2 separate regions of the Homo sapiens genome follow, and region 2 is linked to region 1. Evidence: promoter capture Hi-C in human tissues and cell types (Jung and others, 2019). All regions are on one chromosome and are shown on one strand. The core of a region is centred on a gene start or on the middle of the fragment in contact, and the rest is flanking DNA. Distances in the headings are between cores, read along the strand shown. Region 1 holds the start of COL13A1 (collagen type XIII alpha 1 chain). Region 2 has its middle 33 kb from the start of LINC02651.

Region 1 (6,178 bases), core at 1,569-4,068:
TGCCTGACCCGCAGCAGGCTCTCAGTAAACATTTTCTGAATGAATGAATGAGAATAGGCCAAAAAAAAAAAAAGGTGGCAGGATACAGCGCAAAGAACATTGTATACAGGGCCAGGAGGCTGAGGTTCTAGTCCTGGGCCTCGCCATGTGACTCTGGGCTCAACTTCCCCATCTGAAAAATGGGGTTCAGTTCAGATGCTCTCTGGGATAACTTTCATATCTAGCAGTTGAAAAGATTGTATTCAGTAGGGTAAATATGGAGCTGCAGCTTGGAGGGAAGGAGTGAGCATGTCGGATACAATAGTTAGCCCCAAGGCCCCTAGAGTATGCGACTTGGCATGTCTAAGTCTGAAGCAGTGGAAGCAAGAAGCTAGAAAAGGCCAGGGCATGGTCAGGCCAGCAGGAAGGTCTGGGAAGGGGAAAGCATGGAGAGAGGGGCTGTGCTAAACCCTGAAAATCAGATGCTTATCCCTCAGCAGCCAGGACCCCCGAGATACCTGGAGGAGCTCTCACTGCCCTGACACCTTCTTCACCACCCAGCCAGTCTGGGCTCATTCTGCCTGAGCCCAGAGATGCTGCACCTCCACCCCAGGCCCAGGGAACCATGGACGGCCCGATGGAGTTCTCCGGATTCCCTGGAGCCTGGCAGGGCGTGGGAATGAGCTGACAGCAGCAGTCATGGGTGCACCACTAGCACCAGTACGCTTGCCCTGTGACCGCTCTCTCTGCTCTGGCCCTGCAATCTCCTCCTTGGCCACCCTGGAGAACTGCTCCAGCAGGTGCCAGCCTGGCAGGGGCAGCTGAGAAGAGCCTGGCTATAGGGAATAGGTACATCTTGCCAAAATGCTCACAGCACCCCACCCACCACAGTTAGAGCTGTGCTCCAGTGTTTGCTACATCAGCACTGTTTCGCATGTTCAGAGGGGTTGGAGCGTTTGTCCCAAGCTTCCAAGTAGCAGAGTGGGGATAAAAACCCAGGGTTGCTGGCCTCTACCACCGTGATCTTTACTGCTGCACACTCCCTCCAGCTAAGTAAGATATCCTCTCCCATTTCTTCCCCATGGAAACCTTCCATGGCCAGGACCTTCCATGGCCAGGACCTGCTCCAGGACCTCTTCCCAGACTGCTGCGGCCCCCACCTGCCTGTCCTCCTCTCTATCTGGGCCCTGAATCCCCTGTGCTGTCCAGATTCCCACAGATCATCAAGCCTCACCCTGTCAAGGCCCAGCCTTTCCTCTGGTGGCACAAAGAGGCTGCATGTCCCTCCTTCCTGGGGAGGGGACAGCCTTTTCCTGTATTCCGAAGATTGCCATAGCTACCTGACACGCTAGTAGTGTTTAATCTACTTGGATCAAAAAAATTTGGAGAATGGAAGAAAGCATCCTTTCTCCAGAAAAATAAGAAACCTGGTTTAGGAAAAAGAAGGTGTGGACTAATTTGTGGCCAAGGACAGCAGAGCCAGGCGACCCACACTTGGACCCTAGCGGCCTGGGCCAGTGAGCAGAGACCAGGGCACCACCCCCTGCAAGAACTGTCCCCTCTCCCCGCACCCCCCGGGTCCTTAAGGGGTGGAGGGGGAGGGCCATGGGGGCTCAGTAAGCCTCGGCCTGGGCCTCTGGGCGCGCTTGCCGCTGCGCGGGCGCGGGGCGGCTGTCACACCACCCTGGCCGGGTCCCGAAAGGGAGGAGTGGAGCTTGCCCGCCTCCGCGAGCCTCCGCGCGCCCAGCCTTCCTCCACCTGCCCGGCGTGCCCAGGGCGCTCCCAGCGCTGGAAGCCGGGGGCGCTTGCCCGAGGCGGGAGTCGCTGGGTCATGCTCTTGCCCACCAGGTCCTCCGAATCCCTGGTAGGGCAGCGTCTGTCCGTGTCCCCGACCCCTCCCGCAGGCAACTCGCGCGAACCTGGGGCTCGCAGAGAGCGAGCGCCCGCGGACACCGGCTGAACAGTCTGGAGGCTGCGCGAGGGGGCGCCGCGGGGAGGGATAAAAGCCAGCAACAAAGAGCACAGACCTCGTCCAGCAGTTGATTGACTCGTCCCAAAATAGCCGTCTCCATTTGCTGCTCCCCGCGCTCCGCTTCCAGGCGCAGCACCCGGGCCTGCAGCTCGGCCGTCCGAAAGTGGGCGAGCAGGCTGAGTGCCAGCGAGCAGAGGGCCAGCGTCAGCAGCCCGCACGACCCTGGACTCGGCAGCCGTGCGCCGCGCTCCGCCCGCGCCGCCACCAGAGCCACCGTCCCGGGCGCGCCCAACTCCCCAGGGCCGCGGGCACCGGTGGCTGCCGCTTTGTGGGTGCGCTCCGCTACCATCCTCTCGCGTCTTGAGAACCAATAAATAAATAAATAGAATAAATAAAGGCGACAGCCGCTGCCAAAAGGCTCTATCCAAACTGCGGGGCAGGGGGAAAGGGCTTGTATCGCTGGAAAACGTCCCTTTCCGCTGCTCCCGGCAAAGAGGACGGAAAAATTAGCAGTAGGAGAGGAAGTGCCGAAAAAGCACAACCAGCGGTAATTGGGGTACACCTAGGTGAGAAAAAAGTTATTTCGAAGAACGTTCCAAGTCCAGGAAAGTTAGGGGAATCTGACCGGCTCTCCTTCTCTCCGCCCAGTCTTTCCCTTCAAGTGTCTGCAGAGCAGTTGGTGCCGCGCTGTCAGTCCTTCTGGGCGCCTCGTGTCTCCCGGGCCAGTCAGTTTCAGTCCCCGGGCGAAGGGGCGCACACGGAGGGCCCCATGGGCAGAGGTGGGTCGTGGCGGCTGGCGAGGAGCGCAGGGGCCGATTCCGGCGCCTCTGTAACTTGACACACTCCCTGCGGCGGCACGGATCGGATGAGCAATCCGTGCTACTTCCCAAACTAATCTCTCCCTCCCCCCTCCCTCCTCCTCCTCCTCCTCGTCACTCCTCCTCCACCTCCCGCGGGGCCGACGGCTTGGATTTGTTTATTTATGCAAACTCGCCCAGGGTGGGGGGCGTGGTGAGCAGGTCCGGCGGCCCCAGCCCGCCGGCCCGGGAGCCCCTCTGCCGCGCTCCCCGTCCTCTTTGAAGTGACACTTGGGGTTATTTATAGGCAGGAAGGGGGTGTGGAGTGGAGCTGGCGCTGCACTTCCCTCTCTTTCTCCGGATTCACACCGAGGGCTCGTTTGGCCTTCCACGGAGGCGGTGAGGCGGGCACCACCTTCCATGGACGCGTTGGGGCAGGCACCACTCCACCTTTCCCAGCCCTTGAGACCCTCCAGGAACTCGACTGAGTTATTGTCAGGGCTTGTGGGTGGATCTCCACGTCCTGATCAGGACTACCTGATCCCTTCAGCCACCGCTCCTCTACTCCCAAGCCCCCAACCTCTTTCCCCTTCCTTCTCCCCCGACAACCGACTCCCCGGGGGCTCTGTACCTCCTGAGATCTGCAGCTCCTCCAGTGCCGGGCGGCCAACCACATCTTTACTCTGGGGTGAAAAGTCAGCCCTCCAGGGGGCAGCAGAGCTGGCAGCCCTTCCTCTCAGGACCAAGACCTGAGGTAGTATGAGACACTGAAAACGGAGGAGATCTTATTCCAGGTATCTGAGAGGTGGCTCATTGGGGCCGCCTGCCAGTCCTGACATCTCCCCTTCTTGCCTGCCATTAATCTGAGACCCATGCCATCTATCCCTGTGTGGTGAGACCAGCCTGCCTCAATCATCCCAGTCATCAAAGGTGAGCAATTCCTACACAAACTCAGGTTCCATCCCTGCGGGAGGCTTAGGGCTAACCAGGCTCTCTCCTGTTGTCATTTCCTATATTCCACTAGAGAAAAACTGGTGGCCTGAAGGGCATTTGGTAGTTTTCTCTCTTCTCTTGTCACCTCCTCCACCCCCCACATTAAGTAGCATTTGTATCCCAAGAGACTTTATCTCCTTGTGCCTGTTGACATTCCTGTGAATGAGGTGGTGGGACTGAGTTTTTGGGAGAAAGCCTGTCTTCCTGGAACAGCGGGCAGAGGAGAGTAGACTGGGTTTTCAAATATGCAGTGGAGGTGGGGGCAGCAGTGGTGCTGGGATTCCATTTCAAAATAACAAGGCATGCCAGTACAAACTTCCCATTTTCTATATTGACCTGATGGAACTTGATATATAATACAGTGTCACTGCACTTCTAATAAAGTGTGGCACACTTAATAGTGCATATTGGACTTGTAACATAGTAAGTACTGAGATCATATGTAATAAAGGTAACATTGACTGCTGGGCCAGTCAGCCACTATGGAGGACAACAGGAATAGAAGGCGATGCTGCTGAAAGAGCCCGTGGCCAGGAGCTCTGGGTTCCAGTTCCAGTTCTAGGATTCTCCTGATGGCTTCAGTGGCAAGGGCACTCTGTTTTCTCCATCCCTGTGATGGGATGTCCCAGTCCACTCTACAGAGGAATGAATCCTTGGGAGACTTGGATGGTATTGAAGAACACCAGGGGGCGTTGGAGAGTTTCTGCACTGGGAGGTACAGGCCAGGAAATTCAGGGACTTTGGACTTCCCCCACTCCCCTCCCAGGCTAGTCTGAATGGAGGAACTGAGGTGGGGAGTTAGTTTCATTCCCTCCTTATTCTGCAAACTGATCTTTTCCCTTTCAGGACTTTGGAGGCCCTCAGGAATGCTCAGGCAGTGAAATCTAAACAGTTTGGAGCTGGAGCATCCTTGTGATTGGGAACTGAAAGAGGAGGGTGTTGCGCTAGCCTGACCTGGCCCCAGCATTGCAAACCCTGGAGCTTCCAGGGGGACTCTGGAGTCAGAGAAACCTGGGTGTAAATCTCCCTTTTGTCAATGTGGAAGCTGCTGAACATCTCGGAGGCTCAGTTTTCTCATTTGTAAGATGGGCTGATAATAAAAGTATCTACCCGTCTGGAAGGACTGAATGAGGTAATGTATGTAAAGCAGTGAACACAGTGCTGGCACAGGGCAGGCACTCAATAAAGGGCATCGGCTCCTTCTTTGGAATTCATGGCTGCTAGGGCCATCTCAGACACAGCTAGCTCTGGGCTCCCAGTTGTGAAACAGGAAGAAGTTTCCATCCCAGAGAAAGCAAATGGATCACAGTTAACCTCCATTTTTTCCCTACCTGACAGCTGAGAGTAGCAGCTTGTGAGCAGCAGGAGTTAGCTTGTGTTGAGGGGCCTGATCCCCAGGTATCCCTCTTCTTCTTCCCACACTGCTTAGAATTCTTGCCCTGGGAGATTTTTCTTTCAGGTAGAGCATTGTCTACCCCAGGCACAAGTTACAGCCTCATGTGGCTTATCTTGAACCCTTCTTTCTTCATAGGTGGGGGCCAGGACCTGGGGACACTGAGGTGAAAAGAGTGCCTTCCAGGAGCTTTAAAAACAGTTGATTAAGGAAGACAAGTCATGTTCACATAAAACCGCCACAAAAGGCAGAATAGCGAAAATCCACAAAACATGTAAAGACCACAAAAGGTGCTTCAGGGCTCCCAGAAGAAAGGGGGGGGATTCAGATGCCTCAAGAAAAACACCAGGAAATAGATTTTCTTGTTTGCAGTAAGAAGAAAGAGGGCCTCCAATGCTAACCCAAAGACTTTGATTTTAAACTGTGGTCTTGGTTACACACCTAGACAAAAATGAAGAAAAAATGCCCCAGGCATACAGCCTCTACTGTTCTTCAAGTCTTTTCTGTGTTTTTCCACTTTTTTGCTCCTGCTAGACCCTCTGCCAGGAAGGCCACCCTTCTCTCTCCTGTTTTCTACACCTTAAAATCCTGTCATTTGCTCCCAGCCCGTTTTTATTGAGCAAACCCCACTTCTCTTCCTCCACTGTGGCTTTGACAGCATCAAAATCCTTCCTGAAACCAAAACTACCAGCGTGGCATCTCTGAGGCCCCACTGTGCTGTCTCCCACTGCCTCTTCCACTGCCTCTCCCACCAGCTTTTCAGGCTTCCCCAAAGACTCAGCTTCTGCTCCCCATGACAAAAGCGAAGGTCAGCCCTCCTCCAGAAGGCCGCAGGTCCTCTGTCCTCTACTTGGCTCTTCTGCCCATGGCTCTTGACCTGCCTCTCCCATTTCTTCCCCATGGAAAGCTTCCATGGCCAGGACCTGCTCCAGGTCCCCTGTAGAGGCCACAGGGGAGCCAACACCTGTCATTTTATTTGCCCTGAGCCTAGTCCCCCTATTCCTAGTAACTGTGACTCAATTTCCTTTGGGGAACTTTCTTCTC
Region 2 (6,109 bases), core at 3,107-5,606, 86 kb after region 1:
TAGTAAAGGCTATGGCCAAACATCCACCCACAGAGAAGGAGATCTGTACCTGGGAGAAAGTAATAGAGTCTAAAAGTAGACCCACTTGTATGTGATCAACTGATTTTTGACAGAGGTGCCGGGTAATGCGTAAAAGATAATCTTTTCAACAAATGGTGCTGGAACAATTAGACAATTAGATACCCACATGCAAAAATAAATAAATAAATAGGAACTTGAATTCATAAATAACTTAGATTCATAACTTGCACCATATATAAAAGTTAGCTCAAAAGAACATAGACCTAAATGTAAGAGCTAAATTTACAAAATTAGAAGAAAACATAGGAGGAACCCTAGTGACTTGGATTTGGAAAAGGTTTTATAAATGTAATGCAAAAAGCACAAACTATTAAAAATAAATACATTGGGCTTCAAAATTTTAAAAGTTTGCTCTTCAAAAATATATGCTTATGAAAATGAAATGGCAAACCACACACTGGGAAAAATATTTGCAACAAATTTATCCAGCAAAGGCCTTATATCTAGACTATATATAAAGAATTCTTACAACTCAATCAAACAGCAAACAACCCCATTTTTAATTATTTATTTATTTATTTTAATTTTTTTTTTTTTGAGATGAAGTCTCTCTCTGTCGCCCAAACTGGAGTGCAAAGGTATGATCTCAGCTCACTGCAACCTCCACCTCCCGGGTTCAAGTGATTCTCCCGCCTCAGCCTCCCGGGTAGCTGGGATTACAGGCACCAGCCATCATGCCCAGCTAATTTTTGTATTTTTGGAGAGACAGAGTTTCATCATGATGGCCAGGCTGGTCTTGAACTCCTGACCTCAGGTGATCCATCTGCCTCAGCCTTCCAAAGTGCTGGGATTACAGTTGTGAGCCACTGCGCCTGGCCGAACCCAATTTTTTAAGTGGGCAAAATATTTGAACTGACATTTCACCAAAGAAGATATGTGGATAACAAATAAGCATGTGAAAAGATGCTCAATACCATTAGTCATTAGGAAAATGCAAATTGAACACCCACTAGAGTGGCTAAAAATAGCTTAAAAAGACTAACTTTAGTGAGTGTTGGCCAGCACATGGAGCAACTGGAACTCACACACGCTGCTGCAGAGAATGTAAGATGACATTCCATTACAGAAAACAGTTTAACAACTTCTTTCCACCCAAGAAAAATGAAAGCATTTGCCCATGTGTGCATGAATGCTCATAGCAGCTTTCTTTGTAATAGCCAAAAACTGGGAACAACTCAAACGTCCATCAGCAGATGAATGGAAATACAAATTGTGGTCCTTCCACACAATGGAACACCACTCAGTGATAAAGAGCCATGAACTGCTGACACACACAGTAATGTGGATGGCCACCAAATTAATTAGGCAGAATAAAAGAAATTGGACCCAAGAAAGTATACACTGTATGCATCCATTAATAGAACATTCTAGAAAAATTCAAATTCATCTATAGTGACAGAAAGCAGATCAACTTTTGAGGGTGATAAGGATGTTCACTGTCTTGATTGTGGTGATCGTTTCACAATGTATACATATGTCAACATTTTTTATTAAGTTGAACACTTTAAATATAGGCAATTCATGCTCTATCAGTTATACCTCGATAAAGCTATTTTTAAAGTGTTTTTTTAAAAAGATAAGGGCGAGGTGCAGTGGCTCATGCCTGTAATCCCAGCAATTTGAGAGACCCAGGTGGGAAGATTGCTTGAGCCCAGGAGTTCAAGACCAGCCTGGGCAACATGGTGAAGCCCCATTTCTACGAAATAGTACAAAAATTAACGGGTGTGGAAGTGCGTATCTGTGGTCCCAGCTACTCAGGTGGCTGAGGTGGGAGGATCAATTGAGCCTGGAAGGTCGAGGCTGCAGTGAGCCGTGATTGTGCCACTGTACTCTAGCCTGGGCAACAAACAAGACCCTGTCTCCAAGTAAATAAATAAAGGGAAGAATAGGCCTAGGCAAGGATTCTAAACTAATTTTTGGTTATGGTCCTTTGAGAATCTGATGGAAAACCACATAAAATTGGACACACACAAATCCCACACAATTCCAGGTGGGTTTGTGGACCCTCAGTGGCCTGCGGCGCCCACCCTCAGGCCCCAGGTTTCACGCCCCTGGTCTACAGTAGCATCAATGACCACACGTGTTCACATGCTGACTCTCCACCCTAAAATAATGCTGGACCCCTTCCCCTCGGTATAGCTCACCCTCCCCTGGGCCAAGAACATGCATTTATGACAAAGTTGATAGATATTACAGTAAGACACTGCACCCTGAGAGAGAGCCACAGGGTGGGCCCACCATGGAGTCAAGCCCAGAGGGCTGGCCATTGGTGCACTGCGTGCTGACCCCTGAACTACGGGCCCATAGCATCATGAAAGCTCAGAGCAGCCATCCTGGGGGAGCTGGAGGAAACAGGGACATGTTCTGCTTTCTCGGTCTTCTTCTTCTGCCTTGGTCTCCCAGACACGGGCCTCCTTCACTGTGGCCAGAGGCTTGGCCATAGCCTTTAGTGAGCCGGACCTACCTGCTGGTGCTTACCTGGTGATTGGACTCTGGATGCAGTCTGATCCCTGACTTTGTAAGAATGCCCGTTGGTCCTAGCCCCAGACTGAATTCTAACTCTCATCACCACTGCTCCTAACACTGACCCCACATTGACTCAAGTGCGTTACAAACCACAAGGGAGTCCAGATCAGGAACTGTGGGTGCTCAGAGCAGCTGAGCCTTCTTGGAGACACAGAACAAAAGCTGTGTTTTCAATCCTGTTGCCTCGAAGCCTGAGCCAGTGCAGGTGGATCGGTGCTGACGGTGATGATAACGAGAAGGAAAAGGTGAAACGGGCAGAAAGAGCCTCAGTGTGATTTGGCTGCGTGAGCAAATCCGTCCCACCCTTCAGAGTCTCAACCTGCGATCCTTCGTCTAAACTGGATTTTGGCTCTGCAGACCCTGAAATAGGAAGACAAAGAAGAGACACAGAACAGCCCTCCCTGCCCTCCCCTGATTTACCCCATTCTACCTGAGTCCCTGGGGAGAAATGCTCAAACCCAAACCTCCCAGCAGAGGGCGCCCTGTGCCTTCTAACTCGGCACAGTGGCGGTTTCCTGGGTGCCAGGAGGGGAGTCCTTGGTTCCCAGGTGCCCAGCCAGGCCGAATGGCAGGAGGAGGGAGCTTCTGGCCAAACCGCTCCTGAGACTCCCCTCCTGGTCCCTCCTGAGTTGTCAACTGTCTGTGCCTTGTGGTGGATGGTGTCGGTGGGTTCAGAGATGCCTTTGGCTGGGACCGTGCAGGGAGGATGCTCTCTCTCTATCCCCTCAAAGTTCCCTAGTGGTTAGTGGGCACCCACCCACAAAAACACTGTAGGGCTCTGGCTGCCCCAGCCTGCCCCATGCCTAAGGAACTAGCTTCCTGCCCTCCAACAGGGTCTAATCTGAGAATCCTGGACCACATAAAAACGCACACCTGTTGGGGTGAGGGACGGTGCCAGCTCAGTGGCTCTATCCTAGCTGCCCATCACAGTCACCTGAAAAGCTCTGTAAACACACCAGTACCTGGTTCGCTCTCCACCAATAAGCAGAGATTCTGGAGGTAGGGCCCAGGAGAAGTATTTTTCTCAGGTCCCAGGGCTGAGAACCAAGGGACAGAGGCTCTGCCGGATGGCTCAGCCCTTGTGCTCCAAGTGTGGCCCCAGGACACAGCATCGCCTGGGAGCTTGTTAGAAATGCGGGGTCTTGGGCCCCACCTCACGCCTCCTCACCCGGGAGCTGCAGCTTCACAAGATCTCCAGGTGATTCACGGCACATAAAAGTTTGGGAAGTGCTGACTCCTGACACCAAGAGGTTGATTTTGTGATTGGGCTGTGGGAAGCAGACCAAAAATAGTTGCCACATGGCACGTGAACAAGTGTTAGCAGAACAGAGAGAGCTGCAGGACATTTAAAAATGGGAGCCCTCTGAGTGCCGGAGTATTCAGAAGGCTTCTTGGTGGAGGCAGAATTTCAGCAGCCTTGAAGTCAGGTCAGTGAAGAGGGTGAGGAGATATTTCAGGAGGGGTCATGGCTCAGTGAGGGCCCCGGGGAGGAAAGCACATGGCGCATCGGGACACAGCGAAGAGGCAGCCTGGGGGAGAAGGACCTCCTTAGAGAGCAGGCAGAAGTCCACCTGGACAGGGAGTTTGGAGCCAGCCAAGGGGACCCGTGACTGTTGGGCAGAGGAGTTAGAGTTTTCTCTGTAGGCAAAGGGGAGCAATTGAAGATTCTTGAGCAGCAAAATAGCCTGTAAATAAGAGCTTTGAAAAATATACCAGAAAAAAAATGGGAGGAGAGATGGAACAGAATGGCCCGCTTTCCCCATAGTCCCAGACAGGGTGATTAATAAAGAAAACAAGAAAAGGAATAGCTACATTTTTCTGGTGCTTACTATATTCCCAGCATGATTCCAAGTGCTTGCTTTGGTTACAAGTAGAGTTGACGTTCAGCCGGTGCACACCAGCAAGCTTCTGGGTGGCATCTTAACTGAGGGGTCAGAGTCTCCAAAGCCCCTATTGTGAAACATGTTGAATGTCATCCCTGGTTAAATCTAGGCCTCTGTCCAACAGACCACGTGCAACCCCCAGCACAGTCAAGTAGCACAACCACAAGGAGCCTTGATTTCTCCTGTGTTAAATGGAGTTAGCAGTAACTGCACCCCATGGAGTTTCAGTGAAGATTGAAGAAGGCCATTTATGTAACACGCTTAGCAAAATGTCTGGCGCAAAATGTGTGGATAAATGGAGCTATTGTCATTCGGCAGAGCCTCGTGTGAGGGAGTGATGCTGGAGACTGGAGGCTGAGTGTCTCATCTGTGCCTACTTCAGACTTCTGGACCACCTGCTTCCCTTGCAGGCTGTGGGTAAGGGCTCCATTCCCAAACCCCATCCCATCCTCTTAGCTATGGCCAAGTAGACCCAGCTCCTGGAAGACAGCGTGCTGCTTCAGGATGAAGCCTTCTCACGTCTTTCAGCTTGAACCCCCTTCCTTTGGGCTGACCCCCATTTGCCCGTGAATACCTAGTTCAGTGAACAAAAGAGAAACTGAGTCCAGGGCACAGTCCCTGAGCGCTGAGACTGGATTGGAAGCCCCTACCAACACCCTGTGGCCATTGTCCCCAGCACTACCATCACTGCCATCTTCGGTGTCCTGGCTGCCTCCCCACCATGCTGTGTAAGGACTCTTTGGGTCCCGGAATTCCCAGGCTCAGCGCTGTGGCCTGAAGGCTTGGCCCAGCAATTGGCAGGGCGCAGGCAAGCAATAATATTGAGTGAATGAATGAATGAGCATTCTCTCCTAGAGTTCCTGCATCTGGGGGAAGGTAGTGTGACTTCATGGTTGAGAGCTGTCAGACAACCTGGATTTAAATCCTGGATCTCCCATTTACTAGCTGTGTGACTTGGAGCAAGCTACTTAACCTCTCTGTGCCTCCATCTCTGCGCCTATAAGATGGGCTAATACAGTTGTGATGAATTAATTAATTAATATGCATAAAGCACTCAGCACAGGTTCTGGCAGGGGTAATCTCTCAATAAATCATACCTGGAATTATCATTATGGTGATTATCGTTAACTCTTAGCTCCCTGGGCTTGCAAACAAGCCTGGCTCTTCAGAATAGAGACATCTAGGGTGCAGGAGCCCCCACCACCCTGTCCTTGGCAGGCGGGAGAGGATTTCAGGACAGGCAGCGGCCTGGCCTGCAGGCTGGAAAGGTGTGCTGGGAGGATTCCTCCAGCTGCTTCCTCCCTGTACCCCTCTAACCCAAACTTCCTCTGGGAGTGGATTGAGCTGCAAGGTGACTTCCTTTGCCTGTGATCCTAAGTCCCTCACCTCATTGCATCTGGGACAGAGCCCCGGACTCCATGACCCCCACCTCATTTCCAAAAAGATTAGACCAAGCAGGTTCCCCCACACTTTCCCTTCTTCCCCAACCTCTCCCACCAAGTCATAGGTCAGCATCCCCCAAAATGTGCTCTTTAAGACACAAGTCCTGAGGGGAGCTCCCCAGTCAAGTGCTTCATGTCACAGTTGTTTTTTTGTTTGTTTGTTTGTTTGTTTTGAGA

Evidence for each region. Contacts are between HindIII fragments. The study calls those that stand out against the background at their distance.
Region 2: a fragment that was not itself captured here is called in contact with the fragment with the promoter of COL13A1 in region 1 in 2 of the 25 tissues and cell types used here (neural progenitor cells and pancreas).

Annotation. Positions count from the first base shown.
Region 1 is chr10:69,798,546-69,804,723 of GRCh38, reverse strand. COL13A1 (collagen type XIII alpha 1 chain) reads right to left here and starts at 2,818. Exons shown (of 41, transcript NM_001368882.1): 1 at 2,007-2,818. The coding sequence starts at 2,300. LOC124902444 (a long non-coding RNA gene) reads left to right here and starts at 2,953. Exons shown (of 2, transcript XR_007062179.1): 1 at 2,953-3,678; 2 at 4,588-4,861. The HindIII fragment of the contact is 11,372 bases long and covers 1-6,178 here.
Region 2 is chr10:69,714,113-69,720,221 of GRCh38, reverse strand. No RefSeq gene overlaps it. Among named protein-coding and RNA genes, the nearest start is that of LINC02651, 33 kb to the right of the region's middle. The HindIII fragment of the contact is 9,757 bases long and covers 1-6,109 here.